Linked DNA regions of Homo sapiens: all the other regions are linked to region 3. The links are contacts of gene promoters, found by promoter capture Hi-C in human tissues and cell types (Jung and others, 2019). All regions are on one chromosome and are shown on one strand. Each heading gives the region's core, a stretch centred on a gene start or on the middle of the fragment in contact. The rest is flanking DNA. Distances are from core to core; before and after follow the strand shown.

Region 1 (4,614 bases), core at 1,103-3,602, 120 kb after region 3:
TTGGACAGTATGGCTACTTTAATGGTGTTGATGCTTCCTATCTATGAGCACGGAATGTTTTTCCACTCGTTTGTATCATCTCTATTTCTTTGAGCAGTGTTTTGTAATTCTCCTTGTGGAGAACTTTCACCTCCTTGGTTAGCTGTATTACTAGGTATTTTATTCTTTTCGTGGCTATTGTGAATGGGACTGCATTCACGATTTGGCTCTCAGCTTGGATGTTATTGATGTATTGAAATGCTGAGTTTTATACATTGATTTTGTACCCTAAAATGTTGCTGAAGTTTTTTTTTTTAATCAGATGCAGGAGGCTTTGGACAGACACTATGGAGTTTTCTTTTATATATATATATTTTTTAATTACACTTTGAGTTCTAGGGTACATGTGCACAACGTGCAGGTTTGTTACATATGTATACATGTGCCATATTGGTGTGCTGCACCCATTAACTCGTCATTTACATTAGGTATAACTCCTAATGGTATCCCTCCCCCACCCCCCACCCCACAACAGGCCCCAGTGTGTGATGTTCCCCTTCCTGTGTCCAAGTGTTCTCATTGTTCAATTCCCACCTATGAGTGAGAACATGCAGTGTTCACTATGGAGTCTTCTAGGTACAAAATCATGTTTGTGAAGAGAGATAGTTGACTTCTTTTTTTTCTATTTGGAAACCTTTATTTCTTTCACTTGCCTTATTGCTCTGGCTAGGACGTCCAGTACTATGTTGATTAGGAGTGGTGAGAGTGGGCATCTTGGTCTTGTTTCAGTTCTCACGGGGAATGCTTCCAGCTTTTGCCTGTTGAGTATGATGTTAGCTGTGGGCTTGTCAAAGATGGCTCTTATTATTTTGAAGTATGCTACTTCAATACCTAGTTTTTTTTTTTTTTTTTTTAACATGAAAGGATGTTGAATTTTATCAAAAGTCTTTTCTGCATTTATTGAAATGATAATGTGGTATTTGTTTTTTGCTTTGCTTTTGTGACAAATCATATTTATTGATTTGTGTACATTGAACCAACCTTGCAGAACAAGAATAAAGGCTACTTGATCATGGTGGATTAGCTTTTTGATACAATGCTGGATTTCGTTTGCTAGCATTTTGTTGAGTATTTTTGTATACATGTTCACCAGGAATGTTGGCCAGAATTTCTGTGTGTGTGTGTGTGTGTGTGTGTGTATCAGAATGATGCTAGCCTTATAGAATAAGTTAGAGAGGAGTCCCTCCTCCTTTGATTTTTTTTTTTTTGAATAGTTTCAGTAGGATTGGTAATACCTTTTGTTTTTTACATATGGTAGAATTCAGCTGTGAATCCATCTAATCTAAGGCTTTTTCTGTTTGACAGGTTTTTGTTACTGATTCAATTTTGGAACTCATTAATGGTCTGTTCAGGGTTTCAATTTTTTCCAGGTTTAATCTTGAGAGGTTGTACGTTTCCCAGAATTTATCCATTCCTTCTAGGTTTTCTAGTTTATGTGCACAGAAGTGTTCATTTAGTCTTTGAGGGTTTTTTATATTTCTGTGGGGTTGATGGTAATGTCCCTTTGGTCATTTCCGATTGTCTTTATTTAGATCTTCTCTCTTTTTTTGTAAGTCTAGCAAGCACTCTTTCAATCTTATTTATTTTTTCAGAAAACCAACGTTTGGTTTCATTGATGTTTGAAAACAATTGTATGTATTTTGCACATTAACTTTGTTAAGTTCTGATTTTGGTTATTTCTTTTCTCCTTCTATCTTTTGGGTTGGTTTGCTCTTGTTTTTCTACATCCTCTTGGTATAATGTTAGATTGTTTATTTGAGATTATTTGTGTTTTTGTTTTTGTACCAGTGCTGATATGGTTTGGATCTGTGTTCCCACCCAAACCTCACCTTGAATTGTAATCCCCATGATCCCCATGTGTCAAGGGCAGGACCAGGTGGAGGTAATTGGATTGGCAATTTTAATGTCAGCATTTAGCACTGTACATTTTCCTCTTAACACTGCTTTCACCATGTCCCAGAGATTCTGGTATGTTGTACTTTTGTTTTCATTATTTTCAAAGAATTTCTTGATTTCTGCCTTAATTTCATTGCTTAGCCAAAAGCCATTAAGGAGAAGGTTGTTTAATTTCCATGTAATTGTATAATTTTGAAATATCTTTTCACTATTGATTTCTATTTTCATTGCACTGTGGTCCGAGAGTGTAGGTTGGTATGATTTTATTTTTGAATTTGTTGAGAATTGCTTTATGGTCAAGATGTGGTTCATTTTAGTCTATATGCCATGTGCAGATGAGAAGAATGTATATTCTGTTGTTGTTGGGTGGAGTGTGCTGCAGATGTCTGTCAGGTCCATTTGTTCAAGTGTCAAGTTTAGGTCCTGAATATCTTTGTTAATTCTCTGCCTCAATGATCTGTCTAACACTGTCAGTGGGGTGTTTTAGTGTCCCACTATTATTTTGTGGGAATCTAAGTCTCTTTGTGGAATCAAGGTCTTTAAGAACTTGTCTTATAAATCTGAGTGCTTCAGTATTGGCTGCATATATATTTAGGATAATTAAGTCTTCCTGTGGAATTAAACCCTTTATCATTATATAATGCCCTTGTCTTTTTTTATCATTGTTGGTTTAAGGTCTGTTTTGTCTGAAATAAGAATAGCAACCCCTACTCTTCTCTCTGTTTTTCCTTTGCTTGGTAGATTTTTCTCCATCCCTTTATTTTGAGCCTATGGGTGTCACTGCATATGAGATGGGTATCTTGAAGATAGCATAGAGTTGAGTCTTGCTTCTTTATCCAAATTGCCACTGTGTGCCTTTTAAGTGGGGCATTTAACCCATTTATACTCAAGGTTAATATTACTATGTGCAGATTTGTTCCTGTCATTGTATTGTTAGCTGGTGGCTATGCAAACTTGATTGTGTAGTTGCTTTATAATGTAAACAGTCTATATACTTAAGTGTGTTTTTATGGTGGCTGGTAACAGTCTTTTGATTCTGCATTTAGCACTTCCTTTAGGACTTGTATGGTAAGTCTGATGGTAACAAATTCCCTTAGCATTTGCTTTTCTGAAAAAGATTTTATTTCTCGTTTTCTTATGAAGCTTAGTTTGGCTGGATAAAATTCTTGGTTAAAATTTCTTTTCTTTAAGAATGTTGAATATAGGCCACATTCTCTTCTGGCTTACAGTGTTTCTGCTGAAAGGTCCATTGTTAGCCTGATGGGGGTCCCTTTGTCAGTGACCTTCCTATTCTCTCTAGCTGCTTTTAGTATTTTTTTCTTTTGTGTTGACGCTGGAGAATCTGATAACTATGTGTCTTGGGGATGGTCATTTTGTATAGTATCTTACAGGGTTTCTCTAAATTTCCTGCATTTGAATATTCGCCTCTCTAGCAAGGCTGGGGAAACTTTTGTGCACAGTCTCATTAAATATATTTTACAAGTTCCTTGCTCTTGCTCCCTTTCTGCCAGGGATGTCAGTCATTCATAGGTTTGGTCCCTTTATATAACCCCACATTTCTTGGAGGTTTTGTTCATTCTTTTTTATTTTTGTCTGAGTTGATTTGAAGAACTGGTCTTCAAGCTCTGAGTTTATTTCCATAGCTTGGTTTATTCTGCTGTTAATCCTGATGGTATTATGGAATTTTTGTAGTGAGTTTTTCAGCTCTATCAGATAAGTCTGTTTCTTTCTTAAAATGGCTATTTTGATCTTTTAGCTCTTGTATCATTTTACTGTATTCCTTAGATTCCTTGGAGTAGGTATCACCTTTCTCCTGAATCTCAATGATATTCATTGCCATCCAGATTCTGAATTCAATGTTTGTCATTTCAGCCATTTCAGCCTGGTTAAGAAACATTGCAAGGGATCTAGTGTGGTCATTTTGAGGTAAGAAGACACTTTGGCTTTTTGAATTTCCATTGTTTTTCTTCTGGTTCTTTTTCATCTGTGTGGCTTGATGTTTCTTGAATCTTCGAACTTACTGCCTTTTGGTTGGGAATTTTTGCTTTTATATTTGTTGGTTCCCTTGATGGTTTGACTATGGCCAGATAACCTTCTTTCAATTATGCTAGAACAGTTGTTCTCAAACTACGGTTCCTAGACCAGCAACATCAAAGTCTCACGGCAACTATCAGAAATGCAAAATATTGGGGAAAATCGTGGCTACAAAGCAGGACTAACTTGCAGCTCCCACTTGGACGAACAGAACAGTATGTGGAGGCTTACATCATAAACTTTTGCTCCAAGAACGACCACAAGAATGTACCAGGAAAACTGAAATAATTCACAGACCTTTTGAAGGAAACAGCTTGCCACTGCAAGCTCTGTGAGACAGCCAAAAAACTGGGAGTGCCCAAAGTGTCAGGGGGAAGGTCCATCTCCAAACACACATCCTCACTGGGGAACCTGAAAATTCAGATCACAGAAGAAGGATTTAACCTTACCTAGAGTTGAAATGAATTTAGAGAGCCCAGCAAAATGTAAAGGTAGAAGAAGCAGCAGTAAGAGCCCTGTGGACACTCCTGATCCCCAGGGAAGCCATTTCTGACTTTTTCTCACAAGGGTCCTTGGGGAGGGCTGCCAGTGGAATTCGGAAAGAACCACAGAGAGAAGAAAACGTCCAGTTGAACTCTGTAATAA
Region 2 (4,428 bases), core at 594-3,093, 88 kb before region 3:
TGTGCTTAATTCCATCAAAAGCACTTCTTGCCTAGTATTAGGCTTCTTTGTTTCCTTGACTGTCTTCACTACTCTTATTTTTCTTGCATTACAAAAGATTGCCACAGTGCCCTGAACACGGTAAGCATTCAGTAAGCATTTATTGGATGAATGTGTACTTTGGCCCCTAGATGTAATCAACACATCTGTAGTAATGGAGGTGTGGTCAGCACAGTGTAGGGGAAAGTACATGGGATCTGAAGTCAGAAGATGCCAGTTCTGGGCTCTGACATTTCTAACTCTCTGATCTTAGTTTGGCCAGTTAATGTTTCTAAGACTTGGTTTCCTCATCTAAGAACATAAACCTAAAAGGGCTTGCTGAAGGGACTCAATGAGAGAAAGTGTCTGAAGTAACTGATACAGAGTTGGTGTTCCAAACAGGACATCTTTTGTTAGAGTGACTGGAACATCCTGTGCTATAGAATGCATTTGATGTACCCTGAAAGCAAACATGCTACTGACATGTGGTTACAAGTGGACTTTGTTTTTCATTTTTTATTTTATTTTATTTTTATAAAGGTGATACATATCGTGTTGTTTCAGAAAGCATGGTGATAAAAAAAAAAAAAATTCTTGCCCATGGCATTTCCCATAACCCCTATAAGTAATAGTTTCTTTTAGATATTCCTGTGTTTTCTTTTTAAAATAAATGCTAACATATAAAGATATATTATAGTCCCCTCTTTTTTACTATATATAAATACATGTGATATATTTACTATAAATACATATACACATATAAATGTATACACACACATATATAAATATACACATATATAATATAAATACACACATATATAAATACACACACACACACACACACACACACACAGAGACAGAGAGAGAAAGATATTCCATCTACATTATCAACATTCTGTTCTGAGTGCTGGTGTTTTTTCACTAAATATCTAAATGGACTTTATGAGCCTCTAAATTTGCCCAGAATGATTCTAATCAAGGAGACAAGTATGTGGAAGGAGGGATTTTATTTATTGCTTCACATCACAACTCTGAACTATCAGCAAGACGTAAAAGCTTTGACTCATAGCCTCAAGTCTTTCTAAAGGGAACCACAAAGAAACTGCATGACTAGAACAGTGAAAAACCAAGTTTGCCTTTTATATCAGGCCAGGGTCAAAGAAATTGCAACAGGGCTGAAAGGGCTGTGAAGATGTTATCTCCTTATACTGCCTTGAGATTAGAGGAATGCAGCAGAAAGCACAAACATGCAGTCTAGTAAGTCTTTAGCACTACCTGCTACCTGCTTTTTATCACATGAATGGCATGTTTTCCAGCGAGCCTTCACCTTTAAAGGACAATATTATTCTTAGAATTGTAAACAAGTTCCCTTTTAGGGTTGTGGCTCAGGTACAGAATAGGATTTGCACTTTTTAAAGCTATGTCTGTACGGAAAGCAAAAGCTAGTGGTATAAGGAGGTGATGTGGGCCTTGTAAGTAGTTATTATTCTTTCAACTTTGTTAATCACAGCAAATGATGAAGTTATAAGCACAAAGGTTTGGCAAAATGTAGGCATTAGAATAACAGACCTTCATTTCATTGACAAGTTTAATTATGGCCCAAGTTGCTCTTATCCTCTTTCCCTTTTTCTGATATTTTTACTCACCTAAGTCACTGGTCTGAGTTCTTAAACTCTCATATGAATGGCCCCAGTTTAATCACTGTGCTCCTCATTCCCAAATTCCTGCCACTTCCTCTACTGAAGTTCTCCACCTGGGTAGGGAAACAGACTAGTTAGGGGAAATCCAATGGGCTCATCAGCACAGGCAGCAAGTTCACCATCTCATGCTGTAAATTACCATCACCTTGACCCAATTTGTCACGCGCACACAGTGCAGAAAATTTATCAGAAAGATTAAGAATGGGCTGGTGAAGAGGACAAAAGAAACTCCCTGATGGCCTTTGGTATGGATGGAAGACAGGTCTGCATCTGACCACATAAGCCCAGAGAAGTGGGAGCCTGAGCTGGTTTTCTACACCATATAGGACACAACACTGCAAATCCAGCAGGCAAAGAAAAATAAGGGCAGGGATCTCTGGGAACCAGCAAGCAAAGGCACAGAATCCAGCAAGGTGAGCGGGGTGGGGAGGGTTACGAAGGCAAGCAGATGATGCCTGAGTCTAATAGATTGATGAGTGAGCTGGAGAAGGCCAGGTGGAGGAGGGGAGAGGGAACAAAACAGGCTGAGGCACTAAATCTCTGAGTCTTGAAATAACATAGGGCATTTTAATAACTCCACATAGTTCCGTGTGATTGGAGATGGAATGCCAGTGGGACAGGGCCAGGGTCATGGTGAAAAATTGGAGAGGTGGCCAGAGACAAATAACAAAGGTCCTTGAGAGGTCATACTATATATCTTGTATTTTAACCAGAAGGCACTACTGGGAGCTACTGCAGGATTTTAAGCAGGGAATAACAAGATCAGATTTAAGTTGTAGAAAAGTCACTCTCATACCTATGTAGATCATGGATTTGAGCACTGTGTCCATAGCACCTTCCATACCATAGTGCGTTAGGCATCTGTGTGTCTCCACACTAAGCTGTAACCTCAATGAGGGGAGGGAGCATGTCTGTTTCTCATTATTATATCTCTGGTACCTAGAACAATGCCAAGTTCATAGTCAGGAATGAACGAATGGTGTCCAATCTCATTCATCTTTTTCTCTCTAATGCTCACACAGTACTTAGTGCAATGTAGGTAATAGATAAAGGTCTGCTGAATAAATGAATAAATGCTAACTTCTGCCTCACTCTCCAGTTCCATCTCTCAACATTCCCCAACATTTGTCCTATAACAATAAAATTGTATAGCTTTCCCAGATGCACTGTATTGTTTGCCTTACATGTGCTATTCCCTCTGATTAGAATTCCCTACCCCTATCTCCTATCTATCTAGTGAATTTCAATTATGTCTCAACACTCAGCTTAGATTTGACCCACGGGGGAGAAGCTTTTTGTAATACCAGTACCTCCCATCACCATGTGCAGAAACACACATAGGCTCAAAATAAAGGGATGGAGGAAGATCTACCAAGCAAATGGAAAACAAAAAAAGGCAGGGGTTGCAATCCTAGTCTCTGATAAAACAGACTTTAAACCAACAAAATCAAAAGAGACAAAGAAGGCCATTACATAATGGTAAGGGATCAATTCAACAAGAAGAGCTAACTATCCTAAATCTGTATGCACCCAATACAGGAGCACCAAGATTCATAAAGCAAGTCCTTAGAAACCTACAAGGAGACTTAGACTCCCACACAATAATAATAGGACACTTTAACACCCCACTGTCAACATTAGACAGATCAACGAGACAGAAAGTTAACAAGGATATCCAGGAATTGAAGTCAGCTCTGCACCAAGCGGACCTAATAGACATCTACAGAACTCTCCACCCCAAAACAACAGAATATACATTCTTCTCAGAACCACACTGCACTTATTCCAAAATTGACCACATAGTTGGAAGTAAAGCACTCCTCAGCAAATGTAAAAGAACAGAAATTATAACAAACTGTCTCTCAGACCACAGTGCAAACTAGAACTCAAGATTAAGAAACTCACTCAAAACCGCTCACCTACATGGAAACTGAACTACCCACTCCTGAATGACTACTGGGTACATAACAAAATGAAGGCAGAAATAAAGATGTTCTTTGAAACCAGTTTGAGATCTGAGAATGGACAGACTGCCTCCTCAGGTGGGTCCCTGACCCCCGAGTAGCCTAACTGTGAGGCACCCCCCAGTAGGGGCAGACTGACACCTCACACGGCTGGGTACCCCTCTGAGACGAAGCTTCCAGAGGAACAATCAGGCAGGAACATTTGCTGTTCAGCAACATTCGCCGTTCTGCAGCCTCCGCTGCTGATACCCAGGCAAACAGCGTCTGGAGTGGACCTCCAGCAAACTCCAACAGACCTGCAGCTGAGGGTCCTGACTGTTAGAAGGAAAACTAACAAACAGAAAGGACATCCACACCAAAACCCCATCTGTACGTCACCATCATCAAACACCAAAGGTAGATAAAACCACAAAGATGGGAAAAAACAGAGCAGAAAAACTGGAAACTCTAAAAATCAGAGTGCCTCTCCTCCTCCAAAGGAATGCAGCTCCTCACCAGCAATGGAACAAAGCTGGATGGAGAATGACTTTGACGAGTTGAGAGAAGAAGTCTTCAGATGATCAAACTACTCCAAGCTAAAGGAGGAAGTTCGAACCCATGGCAAAGAAGTTAAAAACCTTGAAAAAAAATTAGACAAATGGCTAACTAGAATAACCAACGCAGAGAAGTCTTTAAAGGACCTGACGGAGCTGAAAACCAAGGCACGAGAACTACATGACGAATGCACAAGCCTCAGTAGCCGATTC
Region 3 (4,505 bases), core at 972-3,471:
TACCCACCTCCAACAATGATTAGCTAGTATACAAGTCACTCAAATTCTCTGATCCTTTTGGCTTGTCTGTAAAATTGAAATATGGACACATGCCACAGAGGAGTTTTATGAGTATTAAATGAAACAACAGCTGTAAAGCACTTCGTACAGAGTACACAATAAGTTTGATTTCTCTTCTCGTCTTCTAAATATAGACTATATAATATTCTTTATACAGAGAATATTAGATAAAATCCAATCATATTTGAAAACCAGGTTGAGCAGGTTGGTTTTTCAAAGAAATTCATTGAGCTTCCATAATGTCCTTTCTATTTGACGGGAGAAAAGGGGCTTTGGAAGATCAAGTGTGAAGCTTTAGAATTCTGTCTGGAGCTGGTTAGGACCACCCAGGCCTGAGTATAAGCAAAGCGCTGTCCGTGGTGCTAGTAAGCGCGAATGCCCCCGGCAACGTTTTCCCTACCCAAAGTTGTTTTTCATTCAGTCAACTTGCTTCGCGAAGCTCACACATCTGCCTCGTGCAAGATTCTCAGTCATTTTACTTAGTCATTGGTTCTTTCCCTATCACCATTCTTTATGTCCCCCTCAAAGAAAAACATTATCTTCCATTTCCTTATCAACTCCAAACAGCTTTCATTTTTCTGACATATTTACTACCTAAGAAAATGGCTCAAGAATTGGGTCAGACTATCTTGTCCTAACTTTTCTGATAAGTTTCAGAGAAACTCAAAGGTCAAAACAAGAGCATAAGAGTAAAAGGTAGAGAAATTAAGAAACTGAAGACTAGGAAATGGGGGTTGGATGGGAAAGAAAAAGAAATTGTTATTAATGCTACCCGGTTCCCTTCCCTGTCCAGGTGGATTTCAGCTCTGTTGAGGCTCTGTCAGTAGATTTTCAGCCCTAACCAGCACTTCCATGGTGGTGGCACTTCCACTGCCTTTAAAAGAAAGAGCTTTTTTTAATTCTACAGGGATTTGGGGGATGAGGAGTCAGAGCTAAGGTATCCTAAAAAAAACATGTGAAGACTCTCATTTTGCAATACACAAGCAATTGCCCTCCTGTTAAGACTTTGTCTTCCTCAGCACTCCGAACCAAAATGATTCTGTAAACAAAAATTGTTCACTTTTAGGAGAGGTCCACTTATGCAGTTCCTCACCAAAGTTTTTAGGCAACAAATCCATAACTTGCGGTTCTCTTCCTATCCAATGTAGCATCCGCTGAAATGTTTTAAATATTTTAAGTAATAAATGTTGATTCAAACTCACCTAGGAAGATTAGGAAGGGGAAAAAAAGCACTTGGCATTTAAATCTTCAGAAGAGAATTTAATGACAGGTTCAGCCTGTTTAATGACAAGCCCAGCACCACACCCCTCTCTTATGATGTTTCATTATTACTGCATAAATTTCCTTTATTACTCATGATAAATAAAAATAAGATACCTGACAAAGTGGGTTTAAATAGGTAAGAGTGCAAACAAAGATTTACTGTACAAATATGATGAAACTGGGATCTCAGATTCTTAAAGTATAATTTTTTTTTGTCTTATGTGTGCCAGGTTGCCACTCTCAATCTCGAACTAGTTTTTTTCTCTTTTAAGGGTTGTATCCATAATGCAAAAATGGAAAGAATTAAAAAGCACACGCAAAACATGATTCTCGGGATTTTTCTCTATTTTTATGGTTGACTAATTCAAACAGAAAGACACATCCAAGAGAAAATTGCTAAGTTTGATACAAGTTATGAAACTTGTGAAGCCCAAGTACTGCCTGGGGATGAATTTAACTTGTATGACAGGTGCAGAGCTGTCGCTTTCAGACATCTTAAGAAACACGGAGTTATTTTGAATGACTTTCTCTCGGTCACAAGGGAGCCACCAACGTCTCCACAGTGAAACCAACTGGCTGGCTGAAGGAACAGAAATCCTCTGCTCCGCCTACTGGGGATTAGGAGCTGAGGGCAGTGGTGAACATTCCCAAAATATTAGCCTTGGCTTTACTGGACATCCAGCGAGCAGTGCAGCCAGCATTCCTGGCGGCTCCCTGGCCCAGTCTCTGGCGCATGCGTCCTAGCATCTTTGGGCAGGCTTCCCCGCCCTCGTGACGCGTCGGCCCGGGCCTGGCCTCCCGGCGATCACAGCGGACAGGGGGCGGAGCCTAAGGGGGTGGGGAGACGCCGGCCCCTTGGCCCAGCTGAAAACGGAATTCTTTGCCGGCTGGCTCCCCACTCTGCCAGAGCGAGGCGGGGCAGTGAGGACTCCGCGACGCGTCCGCACCCTGCGGCCAGAGCGGCTTTGAGCTCGGCTGCGTCCGCGCTAGGCGCTTTTTCCCAGAAGCAATCCAGGCGCGCCCGCTGGTTCTTGAGCGCCAGGAAAAGCCCGGAGCTAACGACCGGCCGCTCGGCCACTGCACGGGGCCCCAAGCCGCAGAAGGACGACGGGAGGGTAATGAAGCTGAGCCCAGGTCTCCTAGGAAGGAGAGAGTGCGCCGGAGCAGCGTGGGAAAGAAGGGAAGAGTGTCGTTAAGTTTACGGCCAACGGTGGATTATCCGGGCCGCTGCGCGTCTGGGGGCTGCGGAATGCGCGAGGAGAACAAGGGCATGCCCAGTGGGGGCGGCAGCGATGAGGGTCTGGCCAGCGCCGCGGCGCGGGGACTAGTGGAGAAGGTGCGACAGCTCCTGGAAGCCGGCGCGGATCCCAACGGAGTCAACCGTTTCGGGAGGCGCGCGATCCAGGTAGCTGGGGCCCCAGGGCCTCGCCGGCAGGGGGCGCGCGAACGCGGGGCGCGGCCTCGGCGGATCGGGGCTGGAACCTAGATCGCCGATGTAGATTTGTACAGGAGTCTCCGTTGGCCGGAGGTGTGCATTCCACGCGTAAAACAGGCTTTTACCCAGCAAAAATCCTAAAGAGAGACATTGAAAAACCCACTGTTTAAGCTTTTTTTAGTGGTTTTTGTTCTGCCATCTCATGATCAGAGATGCAAGGAATAGACTGAATTGGGGAGAAAAGGAGAAAAGGAAAGCTTATTTAGGGAAGAAGATTATCTTGTCTGTCTGCTTTCAACGATAAAGATAAGTAAAGTATAAGTTACGCATTCTAGATTGGATTTAAGGAATTCTACAAAATCATAGTACATGGAAAAAATCAATGTAAACTTCTAAGCTACTATATGAAATCTGTTGTATTGTTTTCTCATAGAGGTTAATTGAGAATGAGACGGGATTCCTCAACCACAGTACTTAGTTCCTTTTATGTTAGCAGTGTCTTATGAGTGATGCATAAGAGAAAAAATATATAGTTCTATAGGTTTCTCATTCTTTAATTATCATACTCAGTGCCCAGATTACAAAAATATTCCTGCAGCAACTGTTAGGTCCTTTTTGAATGGCAAAGGATCTTCATAAATAATGCATCTTTATCTTCATTGTTAAAATACACTTATTCAATGTTTAAGTACGAATCCTGCTTTAATTAGTACTGATATTTTTTATTTCTTTTACAATCTCGGACAACTCTTTTGTACTTTACCGTTGGCTAGTGGTCATATTCAGTACTCACCTCACTATCACCCTCTAAAACTAAGCTAATATTAAGGGATCTTGTTAATAGTATAGATTTTAAAGAAGTGTTCATTTCTTTTGAATTCTTAGAATAATGGTATAACAAATGAGGGATTTTTAAAGGAGCAAAAATATTGTAAAGTGCATCTTAAAAACTTAAAATTTTATTAATAATTATAAAAACAAGTTATATATGTAATTCACCATTTTCTGAAATACTAACAGCAGCTATTTTCCCCTTTTTTTCTATGTAAAATATCCTTACATCACTAGTAGATATAACTTATCACGGTTTTTAAGAGATGAAATGAACATTTCTAATATTAATGAAACAAGCCAACAAAACATGAGAAGTATACTGCCTTTCAATTAAATGGTATATTTTAAAGTGCATAAACCCATAACAAATAACTCGATTTTAGACATTTAGTTACCAAAAATTGTCTTATAATTGACTTTAAATATGACAGCAAATGTTTTCATAATGTTCATGTACACAAATGGCTGCTACAGGATTACTCCTGCAAAACATCATTTTTTCTAAGTTATGCATCATCCTGATTGACTGCTAACATCCAAGCTCTATTTATTTATTTATTTATTTTATTTTTTTTGAGATGAGGCCTCACTCTGTCGGACAGGCTGGAGTGCAGTGGCACAATCTCAGCTCACTGCAACCTCTTCCAGGATGCAAGCGATTCTCCTGCCTCAGCCTCCTGAGTTGCTGGGACTACAGGCACGCCCCACCATGCCCAGCTAATTTTTTATTTTTTGTAGTAGAGACGGGATTTCACCATGTTGGCCAGGCTGGTCTCGAACTCCTGACCTCAGGTGATCTGCCTGCTATGGCCTCCCAAAGTGCTGGGATTACAGGCATAAGCCACTGGGCCTGGCCCAAGCTCTTTTTATATAGCAAAATATTTACTGTTTAACATTTTTAAATCTTAGCTAT

The links. Contacts are between HindIII fragments. The study calls those that stand out against the background at their distance.
Region 1: a contact is called between a fragment that was not itself captured here and the fragment with the promoter of CDKN2B in region 3, in 3 of the 25 tissues and cell types used here (bladder, lymphoblastoid cells and thymus).
Region 2: a fragment that was not itself captured here is called in contact with the fragment with the promoter of CDKN2B in region 3 in 3 of the 25 tissues and cell types used here (H1 embryonic stem cells, mesenchymal stem cells and mesendoderm cells).

Annotation. Positions count from the first base shown.
Region 1 is chr9:21,890,491-21,895,104 of GRCh38, reverse strand. It overlaps a transcript of MTAP not described here. Among named protein-coding and RNA genes, the nearest start is that of CDKN2A-AS1, 74 kb to the left of the region's middle. The HindIII fragment of the contact is 3,541 bases long and covers 582-4,122 here.
Region 2 is chr9:22,094,601-22,099,028 of GRCh38, reverse strand. CDKN2B-AS1 (CDKN2B and CDKN2A antisense cis and trans regulatory RNA 1) reads right to left here. Exons shown (of 19, transcript NR_003529.4): 13 at 2,515-2,657; 14 at 1,665-1,771. Among named protein-coding and RNA genes, the nearest start is that of CDKN2B, 88 kb to the right of the region's middle. The HindIII fragment of the contact is 5,121 bases long and covers 1-4,403 here.
Region 3 is chr9:22,007,021-22,011,525 of GRCh38, reverse strand. It overlaps CDKN2B (cyclin dependent kinase inhibitor 2B), which reads left to right and starts at 2,221. Exons shown (of 2, transcript NM_004936.4): 1 at 2,221-2,728. The coding sequence starts at 2,573. The region is part of intron 1 of CDKN2B-AS1 (CDKN2B and CDKN2A antisense cis and trans regulatory RNA 1); the gene reads right to left. RefSeq lists silencers at 262-556, 2,680-2,879. The HindIII fragment of the contact is 12,658 bases long and covers 1-4,505 here.